Linked DNA regions of Homo sapiens: region 1 is linked to region 2. The links are contacts of gene promoters, found by promoter capture Hi-C in blood cells and fetal thymus (Javierre and others, 2016). All regions are on one chromosome and are shown on one strand. Each heading gives the region's core, a stretch centred on a gene start or on the middle of the fragment in contact. The rest is flanking DNA. Distances are from core to core; before and after follow the strand shown. Region 1 overlaps PRKCI (protein kinase C iota). Region 2 holds the start of ACTRT3 (actin related protein T3).

Region 1 (5,954 bases), core at 1,989-4,488, 510 kb after region 2:
TCCCACTAGGGATCACATTTCAGCATGAGATTTGAGATTTGGAGGGGTCAGATATACAAACTATCACCTTGTTACCAAATCAAATTATTATTATTATTACTATTATTGACAGGGTCTCACTTTGTGATGCAGGCTGGAGCGCACTGGCACAATCACAGCTCACTGCAACCTTGACCTGCCTGGCTCAGGTGATCCTCCCACCTCAGCCTCCCAGGTAGCTGGGACTACAGTGCACACCACCAACATCCGGCTAATTTTTGTATATTTTGGTAGAGATGAGGTTTCTTGGCACATTGCCCAGGCTGGTCTTGAACTCCTGGGCTCAATCAGTCCACCTGCTTCAGCCTCCCTAAGTGCTGAAAATACAGGCATGAGCCACTGTGCGCAGCCTAAATTATTATTTCTAAGTTTTTAAGTTGTCATTCTCACTCAGTTTTTCTAATACCCTTCTTTCAGTTTTGTGCTTGCGGGTTTCTTTATCTTTCTCAAAATTTACTATTTGCTTTTCTTGGTATTCTTCACTTCAGAGATTTCATACTTTATTCTCATGGGTCCATTGTGTGCTGATGATTTTGCAGGCATCTAATAAAAGACTGTCTTCAGGCTTCTCTGTAAATTGCTAGAAGCTTACATTTGTAGTTGTGAATGAATTTTAAGGCTTACTTTGTCGTCCCAAAGGGGTCTTGGTATTCTGTGGAAAAGAATGTCTTCCATTCGCTGAACTACTTCATGCTTGTTTTCTGTCTATAGCATCCAAAAACGCCTCTGAATGTGTGCTCTCACTAGCTTACATTCTATGTATCAAGCTTCCAGCAGACTCTTTCATCTTGATGTCTCATTATAACTTCTGAATTTATCATGAAAAACCCAATCGTTCTCTCCAGTAACTTTGTCAATCTTATCCTAGCCACACACTTGACGTTCCCTGTCAGTGGTACCCCCAATCTCTTGGTCACCAAGGTTAATGTGTTTTTTTAATTCCTGCATCTCTATTGCCTCTGTACCCAAAAGTTATCGTATCCTTTTTAAGACATCCTTCGATGTTTTTGTGATTTCAACTCCCTCCCCATTCTTATTACCATCCCTCTTATCTCAAAATTCATCCATATAATCTGGATAGTTAGATTATTTGGTTTGGAATGACATTTGAAAAATATTAAGAACTTAAAATATTTTTATGTTAGGAAAATATCTTTAAATCGTTATAGGTACAACTAGGTGTTAGAAATATAATGTACTACGCAAAGCATTTCCCATTATAACTCTGATACAAATGTTCTCAACAGGCAATGAACACCAGGGAAAGTGGCAAAGCTTCATCCAGTCTAGGTCTTCAGGATTTTGATTTGCTCCGGGTAATAGGAAGAGGAAGTTATGCCAAAGTACTGTTGGTTCGATTAAAAAAAACAGATCGTATTTATGCAATGAAAGTTGTGAAAAAAGAGCTTGTTAATGATGATGAGGTAAGCACTGCATATTTTATTGCTTCTAAACTGCTTGAGAATACTATTCTTTTTTTTTTTTGAAACGGAGTTTCGCTCTTGTCACCCAGCCTGGAGTGCTAGTGGTGCAATCTTGGCTCACTGCAACCTCTGCCTCCCAGGTTCAAGTGATTCTCCTGCCTCAGCCTCCCAAGTAGCTGGGATTACAGGCATGCACCACTATGCCCAGCTAATTTTTGTATTTTTAGTAGAGATGGGGTTTCACCATGTTGGCCAGGCTGCTCTTGAACTCCTGACCTCAAGTGATCCACCCGCCTCAGCCTCCCAAAGTTGCTAGGAATATAGGCGTGAGCCACCGCACCCAGCCAAGAGTACTATTTTAAAGAAAACCTCTATGTTTGTGCTTTATTATCTCATTCTGCTTTTCTAAATATGTGCTAAGTAAATGAAATATATTATTTCGGTTTACTTTTCTTATAGATGGTATAAGATATTTAAAGTAATTTGATTATTAGATTTTTTTAAAAAAACAAAAATCAAACCACATTATTATCAGGAGAAATACTTGAGCTTTGTAAAAGTTTTCTAGACAGTTTTATAATACTGAAAGATTGACTAGTGTTATTTTTCTCTTTGTATGTAAATTTTCGTTTCATGATTATCAATGGTTTTGATATTTAGCCTAGTTAACCATTGCATTTGTGACCATTGAATTGCTCAGAGCAAATTTATCATTAATTGTGATATCAGTTTGACATAGATTTCTTACATGTTTCAAAATAGGATATTGATTGGGTACAGACAGAGAAGCATGTGTTTGAGCAGGCATCCAATCATCCTTTCCTTGTTGGGCTGCATTCTTGCTTTCAGACAGAAAGCAGGTAAGATTGAAAGATAGTAGAATGATTACTGGGCTTCATATTTTTGGTCATATTACACAGTTAGAACCTTTCTGCCCTAATTCATGAAGTTGATATCATGGAGGATGCAACAGTGTTAGGCTTATAACTTCCTGCTAATAATACTGCCATCAGTGATATCAGTTTGATATTAGATCAGCATTAGGAAATGACCTACTTTAGGCAGAACAGGAAATAGCCATGTCGTAATTATGGCAGTAGAAATCCAACCTTTTAAATATCCCCAGTATTCTAGTTTTATGACTTAAAATTTTCTAGCATTTAACAAGGAGGAAAAATACCTTGACAGTCGAAAATGACTTATTTAGCAAATGCTAAAATTAGGATGGTAATGAGTGGCTCTGGATTGCAAGTGGTACTACTTTAGAACAGAAGTAGTAGGTTACAAAATTATTATCATGCTGGTTTACTTTCTCGTATGTTCCGTACCCTAGATACCCTTTGTTTCCACCAAAATTTTGGCATCTTTTTAAAGGCTAAATAGTAGAGAATGCTCTCTGTTGTGATGGTTTCTGAAAATGCAAAGTTACACTACCTTATTTTGGATCTTGATTTCATGGGTTCTCTCCTGTGTTTTAGATTGTTCTTTGTTATAGAGTATGTAAATGGAGGAGACCTAATGTTTCATATGCAGCGACAAAGAAAACTTCCTGAAGAACATGCCAGGTGAGTTTTTGTTTACTGTTTGTGTTGTTTTCTTTTTGGGGCCATGTGGCTTTTTATGTGCAGTGGTTGGAAACAGTAGATAAATAATTTATTTTGATACTAGTTAATTATTTGTAAGTCATGCAGAGGCTGAGCTAAAAGTTAATTTACATTATATATATGTAAAACAATTATATATTCTTTTACATTTATACACATACATGTACATACACATGCACACAGTGCTTCCTAAGCAATTGAAAAGTGTGAACAGTATTAAAAGGCAAACCTTTAGTCTGCTAAAACCAATCCTTTTCAAATATTATGTCTATGTAGCATCAGCCATTTAAATAATTGAGACTAATAAACACTTATTAGTCTTTTCAGGTTTGTAGTGGTCTCTCAGAGAGTTCTTCACGATAAGAGTGCTATTCATACATACTTGAGAGTAATTAAACGATCCCTCTGGCTGGGCACAGTGGCTCACACCTCTAATCCCAGCACTTTGGGAGGCTGAGGCGGGCGGATCACCTGAGGTCAGGAGTTTGAGACCAGCCTGGCCAACATGGTGAAACCCTGTCTCTACTAAAAATACAAAAATTTGCTGGTCGTGGTGGCGGGTGCCTGTAATCCCAGCTACTCAGGAGGCTGAGGCAGGAGAATTGTCTGAACCCGGAAGGCGGAGGTTGCAGTGAGCCCAGATCGCACCACTGCACTCCAGCCTGGCCAACAGAGCAAGACTCTGTCTCAAAAAAAAAAAAAAAAGATCCCTCTTAAACTAGTATATACTTCTGACTGTTCTTCCTGTGATTTATTGTTCTTTGGCTTTTTTTTCCTCTAATCCCATAATTATTGATGAATAAAATAATATCGAATAGGCCAGGCGCAGTGGCTCATGCCTGTAATCCCAGCACTTTGGGAGGCCGAGGCGGGTGGATCATGAGGTCAAGAAATCGAGACCATCCTGGCCAACATGGTGAAACCCCATCTCTACTAAAAATATAAAAATTAGCCGGGCGTGGTGGCGGGCACCTGTGGTCCCAACTACTTGGGAGGCTGAATTAGGAGAATCGCTTGAGCCCGGGAGGCGGAGGTTGCAGTGAGCTGAGATTGCGCCACTGCACTCCAGCCTGGGTGAAAGAGCGAGACTCCGTCTCAAAAAAAAAAAAAAAAGTATTGAATATTAATTTTGTGCCCTTAATTTGATATTAATATACAAGACTGTAAATTGTTTATGTGTTGGATGGAGGAGATAGGTGGGAAGGGATCATGGCCTTGAGTAAAAAGTTTAATCCATCAGTACCATGTTTTGTTTCTTATCCGTAATCAGCAGTAATTCTCACCCTTTCCTACTTCACAAGAGTAATGCCAAAATGAAGCATGTGAGTTTGTATATGTATGTTATTATCATGCAGGGAATAAATATTAGAAATTTCATTTAAATTAAAAACTTGTAGAAAATTTGCTACTTCATTATTGCTTGTCAAAAATTTCATAAGAAGATATAAATTGTACTTGTCTAATCTTGAGGCCAACCTGGGTTTTTTGTTTATTTGGGTTTTTTTGTTGTTGTTTTGGTGTTCATTTATGTTCATTGTGTATTTATGCCTTATCAAATGGTCACCCTTCATAGAGCCACAGATGATATTTTGAATTGTGAACATAGCCAATATTTGTTCCTTGTTTGTTCAGTTGAATGTGGGAAAGCTAGTCTGGTTTTTACTATATTAATGTGCCAGTTTTGGTTTTATACCATCTTTGCTTTTGTAAGAACTAAAGCCCAGGACAAGGGCTTAAGTTCCCAAATCACGGAATTAAGTAGCTAGGAGGTGTATGTTACGTACCTCCACACATGATCATGATAATGTGCCACCAAAGCAGCCATACATCAGCTCAGGCATTCCATTTTCATTATTCAGGCCAAAAGTTCTGGGTTGTCACCAGTGAGTTGGTAGCAGTTTTTTTAAGTTCTTCATTTAATATTAAATTTTACAGTTGTTTATAGTTGTAGAATATTTTCATTTAATTCCTTTTCTAAAACCTTCATGAGGATTTTATAGTATTGAGTAGTCAGCTTGTAGTATTCTTTCTATTCTCGACCCCATTAGTGGTTCTTAGCCTTCTCGGAGGATCACGGGTCCCTTAGAGAAGTGATGAAAGCTTTGAGGACTCTGTAGATACTGTGCATGTACATACGGGCATACACCTTTGCCCCCAGTTGTAGAAGTATGGACTGCCTGAAGTTCACCCAAGGACCCAGATTGAGAACCCCTGTTTGAGACTATCAAATTAATAGCTTTATGAAAAATGTGAGTTTAAGTTAGACAGGAACTTTTACAATTGTGTCTTGGGCTCAGATGTTTTAAAGTGGTACTTCAGTTCATTTTTCAAATTTGTTCCTAAAATCACTGGGAGAAAAAAATATGTTTTAATATGAATTTTTGTGTTTCCAGTTGTAAATGTAGAACTTAAATATGGTTGAATCAAATGACTTATTTTTTATTTAATTTTAGATTTTACTCTGCAGAAATCAGTCTAGCATTAAATTATCTTCATGAGCGAGGGATAATTTATAGAGATTTGAAACTGGACAATGTATTACTGGACTCTGAAGGCCACATTAAACTCACTGACTACGGCATGTGTAAGGTGAGGAAAATTTTCTAGTTATTTTAAAAGGTCTTCAGCAGCTAGTAGTCTTTGTAAAATAACTTCATGTTTAAAGATGAGGAAATGATTACTAATTTTGCTAATTTACTTAAGCTTTGTGGAATTCTAGCACAAAGACAAATGTACTTTTTTTCTAACCATTTGCAAAATTTGTATCTTCTGTGTTATGTGTACTACAATAAGAGCTAATTTCTTTTTATTATACATAACTTTTTATCTTGAAAGTTGAAATACAATTGAAGACAATTTGGAAATAAAAATTGTCTGCAATTCCACT
Region 2 (6,208 bases), core at 262-2,761:
ACCCTCAAAGATGGGCACACTCTGGGTAACCCCAGCACCTGAATTCAGCACAAGGCCAGTAGTGAAGCCAGCAGCAAAGAGAGCCAGCACAGCCTGGATGGACATATAGAAGGCAGGAACACCCAGATGCTCAAAAAACATTTCCGTGATCTGTTGCCGGTTGGCCAGTGGGTTCAGCGCTGGCTCAGTAATCAAGACTGGGCCATCACACGGCTTCAGCTTTAGGTTATAGTCATAGATATGCTTCCACATGATCTCCATGTCCTCCCATGAAGTAATGAGACCACGCTCCACTGGGTAACTGTAAGGAAAGCAATAAGATCAATGACAGCTTTTTATTTTTCTAGTTTCTATTGTCTTCGACCCTCAGTTAATTCCCCGCGTTTATTACCAATATCCCTTTATGGGCAATAACTGCCACAGCCTCTCACAGCAGGTAAGTGTCAGCCAAAAATAGCACAGCTACTTACCTCTGCAATTTTTTTTTTTTTTTTTGGAGACAGAGTCTCGCTCTGTCACCCAGGCTGGAGTGCAGTGGCGCGATCTCAGCTCACTGCAAGCTCCGCCTCCCGGGTTCACGCCATTCTCCTGCCTCAGTCTCCTGAGTAGCTGGGACTACAGGCGCGCGCCACCACGCCCGGCTAATTTTTTTGTATTTTTAGTAGAGACGGGGTTTCACCGTGTTAGCCACGATGGTCTCGAACTCCTGACCTCGTGATCCGCCCTGCTCGGCCTCCCAAAGTGCTAGGATTACAGGCGTGAGCCACCGCGCCCGGCCTACCTCTGCGATTTTTGTTGCTTTCCATTTTCTCTGTCCTTTGGAACCTTGTGACTTTTAAAAAATTGGGAAATGTCCACATTATAGTATAGTTTAAATGTCAATTGAAGAGAATAACCCAAGTGACAAAAGGGACCATGAGTTAATATTCTTAAATGAATTCGTTCGATAACTTTATACGTTTTAATACATTTGTATAGCCACAGAGAGCAAAATGTTCAGTTTTTAGATGTGTGGTACCCTTGGAGATTTGTGGCCCGTGCGTTTGTAGTAATTCCAGCTGGATGGGGCTTTCCAGCTCCCGGCTTTCTTATTCTTTCTGTCCCCATTGCGCACCTCCTTTGGGGTCCTTTCCTGCCCCCCGACAACACCCCCAGTCCCCCCACCCCCAGCCACCCCAGCCCCACCCCCCAACCTCCCCAGCCCCACCCTACCCCACCCCCACCCCACCCACCCTCCCCAGCCCCAGCAGCCTGCTGGGAGAAGGAGGTACCTGATGAACAGCGAGCTCCTCCAGTCCTGAGCTTGGTCGCCCACGCAGAGTTCTAGCCCGCCCTGGGCCGCGCGGCTCTGGCCCTTGGCGCGGCCGATAATGTTCGGGTAGATAAACTGGGGCTCCCGGCACCCAGCCACGCCCGCCTTGATCATTCCCGAGCCGTTGTCGATCACCACCGGTAGCTGGCAGTGGTTCATGCCGCCGCTGCTGCCGCCGCCTCCTGTCTCTGAGCCGCTCTAGCTACGGGCTCGGCCGGGGCCGAGTGCCTGGAACGCCGCGTCACAGAGGCCCCGGCACGGCCGGGTGAGGCCAGAGTCCTGGGGGCGCAGGCAGGGGGTCGGCAGGGCCCCAGGCGGAAGGACTCGCTGGACGCACCGTGCTCCTCATGTTACCGCCCGCTATTGCTTCTCGCAGGAATTGGGCCACCCCAACACCTGGAATCCCGGAATCCCAGTATCAGGAAAACCCGACTTTCGCATCAAAAGATTCAACTCTAACCCTTCACAAGTGCATTTCTCAAATACCCAGAAGAGCTATAACAGCAGTTTTATTTTCCAAAGCCACGGAATTCTGGTTAACTGGTGGCGGTTCCGGGGAGTTCTAGAATTCGCCCTTGAAACTGGGGAAAAATGAGACTTAAGAGGAGAAAGTTGTTGCAGGAAGGGAGGCAGTGTCTGCTTCTGAAATGTTAAACTTCTAAAATAAGGAGAAAAATGCTGGAATTTAAATGAGTTTTAAGTACGTTTATTATTGTTTCTGTACCTTGGGCAATGCTTTGTTGTGTTTCTTCCTGTGATTTCCAAGCAAAATGTACGCAATTAAAACAAAATAGTAGTTCCTAGCTTAAATATGTAAATAAATATAAATTTATATATATTTATATAAATATATATAAATTTAAATATAAAATATTAAAAAATATATAAATTTATATAATTTATATAAATATATGTTATATTATATAAATATATTTATATATTTATAAAATATATATTTATATATTTAAGCAAGGATATAAATCGAAATATATATATTTATATTTATTATATGTATAAATATAAATATATAAAAATTTATATTTATATTTATTATATGTATAAATATAAATATATAAAAATTTATATTTATATATCATAAATATAAATATATAAAAATTTATATTTATATATCATAAATATAAATATATAAAAATTTATATTTATATATCATAAATATAAATATATAAAAATTTATATTTATATATCATAAATATATAAAAATTTATATTTATATATCATAAATATATAAAAATTTATATTTATATATCATATATAAAAATTTATATTTATATATCATATATAAAAATTTATATTTAGATATCATATATAAAAATTTATATTTAGATATCATATATAAAAATTTATATTTAGATATCATATATAAAAATTTATATTTAGATATCATATATAAAAATTTATATTTAGATATCATATATAAAAATTTATATTTAGATATCATAAATAAAAATTTATATTTAGATATCATAAATAAAAATTTATATTTAGATATCATAAATAAAAATTTATATTTAGATATCATAAATAAAAATTTATATTTAGATATCATAAATAAAAATTTATATTTATATATCATAAATATATAAAAATTTATATTTATATATCATAAATATATAAAAATTTATATTTATATATCATAAATATATAAAAATTTATATTTATATATCATAAATATATAAAAATTTATATTTATATATCATAAATATATAAAAATTTATATTTATATATCATAAATATATAAAAATTTATATTTATATATCATAAATATATAAAAAATTATATTTATATATCATAAATATATAAAAAATTATATTTATATATCATAAATATATAAAAAATTATATTTATATATCATAAATATATAAAAAATTATATTTATATATCATAAATATATAAAAAATTATGTTTATATATAATAAATATATAAAAAATTATGTTTATATATAATAAATATAAAAATTTGTTTATATATAATAAATATAAAAATTTATGTTTATATATAATAAATATATAAAAATTTATGTTTATATATAATAAATATATAAAAATTTGTTTATATATAATAAATATATAAAAATTTATGTTTATATATAATAAATATATAAAAATTTATGTTTATATATAATAAATATATAAAAATTTATATTTATATATAATAAATATAAATATATATATTTCGATTTCTATCCTTCTGGTGTAATCTGCAAGCCTCATTCGCTACTCTTGATTTTTAGGCTGAAGGACGTGCCTGTCTTTTTGCAGGAAAAGTGAAGTTTATCAGGTCATATGAAATTCAAGTTTGGAAAAATTTGAAAGTACATTGCATGTCAATAAACGCATCTTGGTGTCTGATTCTGCATACATCTGTAGAGAATTTGAAAACAAGCAGTCAATTTAGAACTTCTGCTTGGTCTTCGGAAGCAAAAAGAGGAAATTCAAAAGTAATTTTACACGTCCTTCCACCAGAAGCTGAAAGGATGGCTTTTTCGCGGCTGAATAACGAAAGCCCCCTGCTTCGCCCCGGACTCTGAGCAGCTCAACCTGCGGAAAGGATGTGTAATAAAACGCCTTTCCAGGGAGACAAAAAAAAAAAAGGCCACCCAAAGGAAGGGCAACTCGGGAGTGCCTGGTTTCTACTGCGGTACCCGGGCACTTTGGAAGAAAGTGCGTGCAGATTCAAGCTTTTGAAATGGTTTCAGCTCTGTTCAATTGGGCATAGGCTATTTTTCCTTTTCTGTTTTTTTCTTTAAATACATTATATTCATTCCTCTCAATTTGATAATAATCACTTGAGAATTGCGAATTGACACTTACATATCAAGGACTTTACAAAACCCTCTCCAAAGTGGGGTTTCCGTAGTGTAGTGGTTATCACGTTCGCCTAACACGCGAAAGGTCCCCGGTTCGAAACCGGGCGGAAACACACTAAAAAATCCCTTTTTTTTTTTTTTTTTTTTTCCTTCGCTTGGAAGAAAGCGTGAGATCACGCTTTGTTTTCTTTTGTTGTTTGTTTTGTTTTTTTTTCTGAGGGAAGCCTTAGCTTAATGTATGCCGGTCCTTCAAAAGACATGATAGCAATTTGAGAGTCTGAACTGTAAGTTTTTGTTACTTTATTCGTTCACCAAATGTTTTTATGGAAGCCTTGCCACGTGGAACATGTGTCCCGGGTTTTAAAAAATGAATTTGACTCACCAGCTAACACTGAAAAAATAATGTACAGCCTAGAAGGAAAGATCAAAGTGTAAAAGTGGTTAGTCCTGTCGCCTCCTGAGCATTTTTGTATTATATCACTTGGTTTTTCGTCTGAAGTGGCTGTAAATAATCGTATTAAAAATCTTCTGGTCCAGACGCAGGAAAACCTTTTCCGGTATAAAGCCCACCTTCCTCTAATGTTGCGCATGCCCACTGTGCCCAGCTGCTCCGCTTTCGTGCATCCCAGACTTCTGTCACCAGGTAAGGGCATCTTGGAAGCTGAGCTACAGTTGGCTGGGGCACAAAAAAACCAGGGGGTGCCAAGAGTTTTCAGGTACGTAAGCGGGAAAGGGGTGCCAAGTCTCAGCTAAAAAATCCCCTATGGCAGAGATCCGAGTACACATGCAGCAGTTTCCACCGGTGGGGCCCCGAGGAAGGGGAGGATGATGGGAGAAGACAAGCAACTACAAGCCCCCGCACGCAGTGCGCAGCTGGCTTCAGGAGAGAGGCCCGCGGTGCTGTGCTGCCGGGCCTCGGCGCAGAGCCCCGGCAGAGCGCCAGACGCTGACTGCCGGCACCAGAATGCTCGCGATGAGGAAGACAGGCGGAGCGCTGCGAGCTAGCGAGCCCTCAGCTCTCGTATCCATGACGCCTGCTGCTTCGGGGGACCCCTGGCATGCTGGGGAGTGGGTCTCTGTGGTACATCCTGTACCGCCCTGGCCGGCGCCGGACCCCCATGGCCCCAGAACCTCCCGCACTGCCACGGGAAGACAGAGCCGGACGTGACGCCACCGTGGAAGGAAGGGAGGGGCGGAGCGTGGCTCGGTGACGTCCTCCCAAGATGGCGGAGACAGAGTGAAGAAACTGTGTTCCCCCCTTGGGTTGCTATCGGTGAGTTCCTACTTCACCCCCAGCCCGCCATCCCGGTCTCTCTAGAGCCTGGGCCATCAGAGGGCAGGCTCCTTGGAGTTCCAGCACGGGTCGGGGCGCAGGTGGAAGGCTTGGGCTAGGCAGCCCCGGGGTGGCCTGGGCCACAACCTCTGCTGTGGAAATTCGCGGGAGTGGGAGCTGGGCAGAGGGCAGGGCGGCAGAAGCCGAGGAGGGACTGGCTTTGGTTGTCACTCTCGGATGCCGCCTCGCGTAGAGAGTGGGAAGGGAGAAGGTGTGGCCTCCTTAGCGCGAGTGATAGAACCTTTGACAGCAAGCCATGGCCGGGCGCATTCCCGGCTTTCTGGGCAGCCACCTCTCGTTTTGGAGAAACTGCACTGGGGAAACTAACAGGTTTTGGTGACTTGAGAGCAGTTTTTAAAAACTCGTACTGTTCTGCCCCTATCTGTCCCAAGAGATCATGTCTTAGTGGTTTAAAAAATTTTTTTGTAACATAAGTATGTCTACTGAGCTTGAAAATCTGAGGGTTCAACAGATGTGAAAGCGTCAGGTTTTGCTGTGCTTTTTGCAGGTGGTAGAAGTGTTGCCATTCACCGTCACTTATTGATGTGTCCAAAGGATTGTGTTAGTTGATCAAGGTAACCAAAGATAGAAAGGCACTCATCCCTTCATTCTTAACCATGTATGTTTGATAAGGATTTTCAAGGGGGCTAAAATTGTTTAAGTTATGTCCTCTGTCCCTTCCCTCACTGAACGTTGATGAGAACTTACGGTTACTGATTTACTGTTTCTTTTTGT

What was found. Contacts are between HindIII fragments. The CHiCAGO score rates a contact against its expected background, and 5 or more counts as called.
Region 1: a fragment that was not itself captured here is called in contact with the fragment with the promoter of ACTRT3 in region 2 in 1 of 17 cell types (activated CD4 T cells); the score reaches 6.7 in activated CD4 T cells.

The regions. Positions count from the first base shown.
Region 1 is chr3:170,278,941-170,284,894 of GRCh38, forward strand. PRKCI (protein kinase C iota) reads left to right here. Exons shown (of 18, transcript NM_002740.6): 9 at 1,287-1,463; 10 at 2,226-2,323; 11 at 2,942-3,028; 12 at 5,521-5,656. Among named protein-coding and RNA genes, the nearest start is that of PRKCI, 59 kb to the left of the region's middle. The HindIII fragment of the contact is 3,853 bases long and covers 1,313-5,165 here.
Region 2 is chr3:169,768,050-169,774,257 of GRCh38, forward strand. ACTRT3 (actin related protein T3) reads right to left here and starts at 1,512. Exons shown (of 2, transcript NM_032487.5): 1 at 1,272-1,512; 2 at 1-301. The coding sequence starts at 1,471. MYNN (myoneurin) reads left to right here and starts at 5,347. Exons shown (of 8, transcript NM_018657.5): 1 at 5,347-5,413. It overlaps TRV-AAC1-1 (tRNA-Val (anticodon AAC) 1-1), which reads left to right and starts at 4,181; the gene lies at 4,181-4,253. RefSeq lists enhancers at 235-379, 1,241-1,500, 1,592-1,736, 3,897-3,996, 4,887-5,436 and 2 more, cis regulatory regions at 307, 1,664 and a silencer at 1,581-1,650. The HindIII fragment of the contact is 4,942 bases long and covers 1-4,009 here.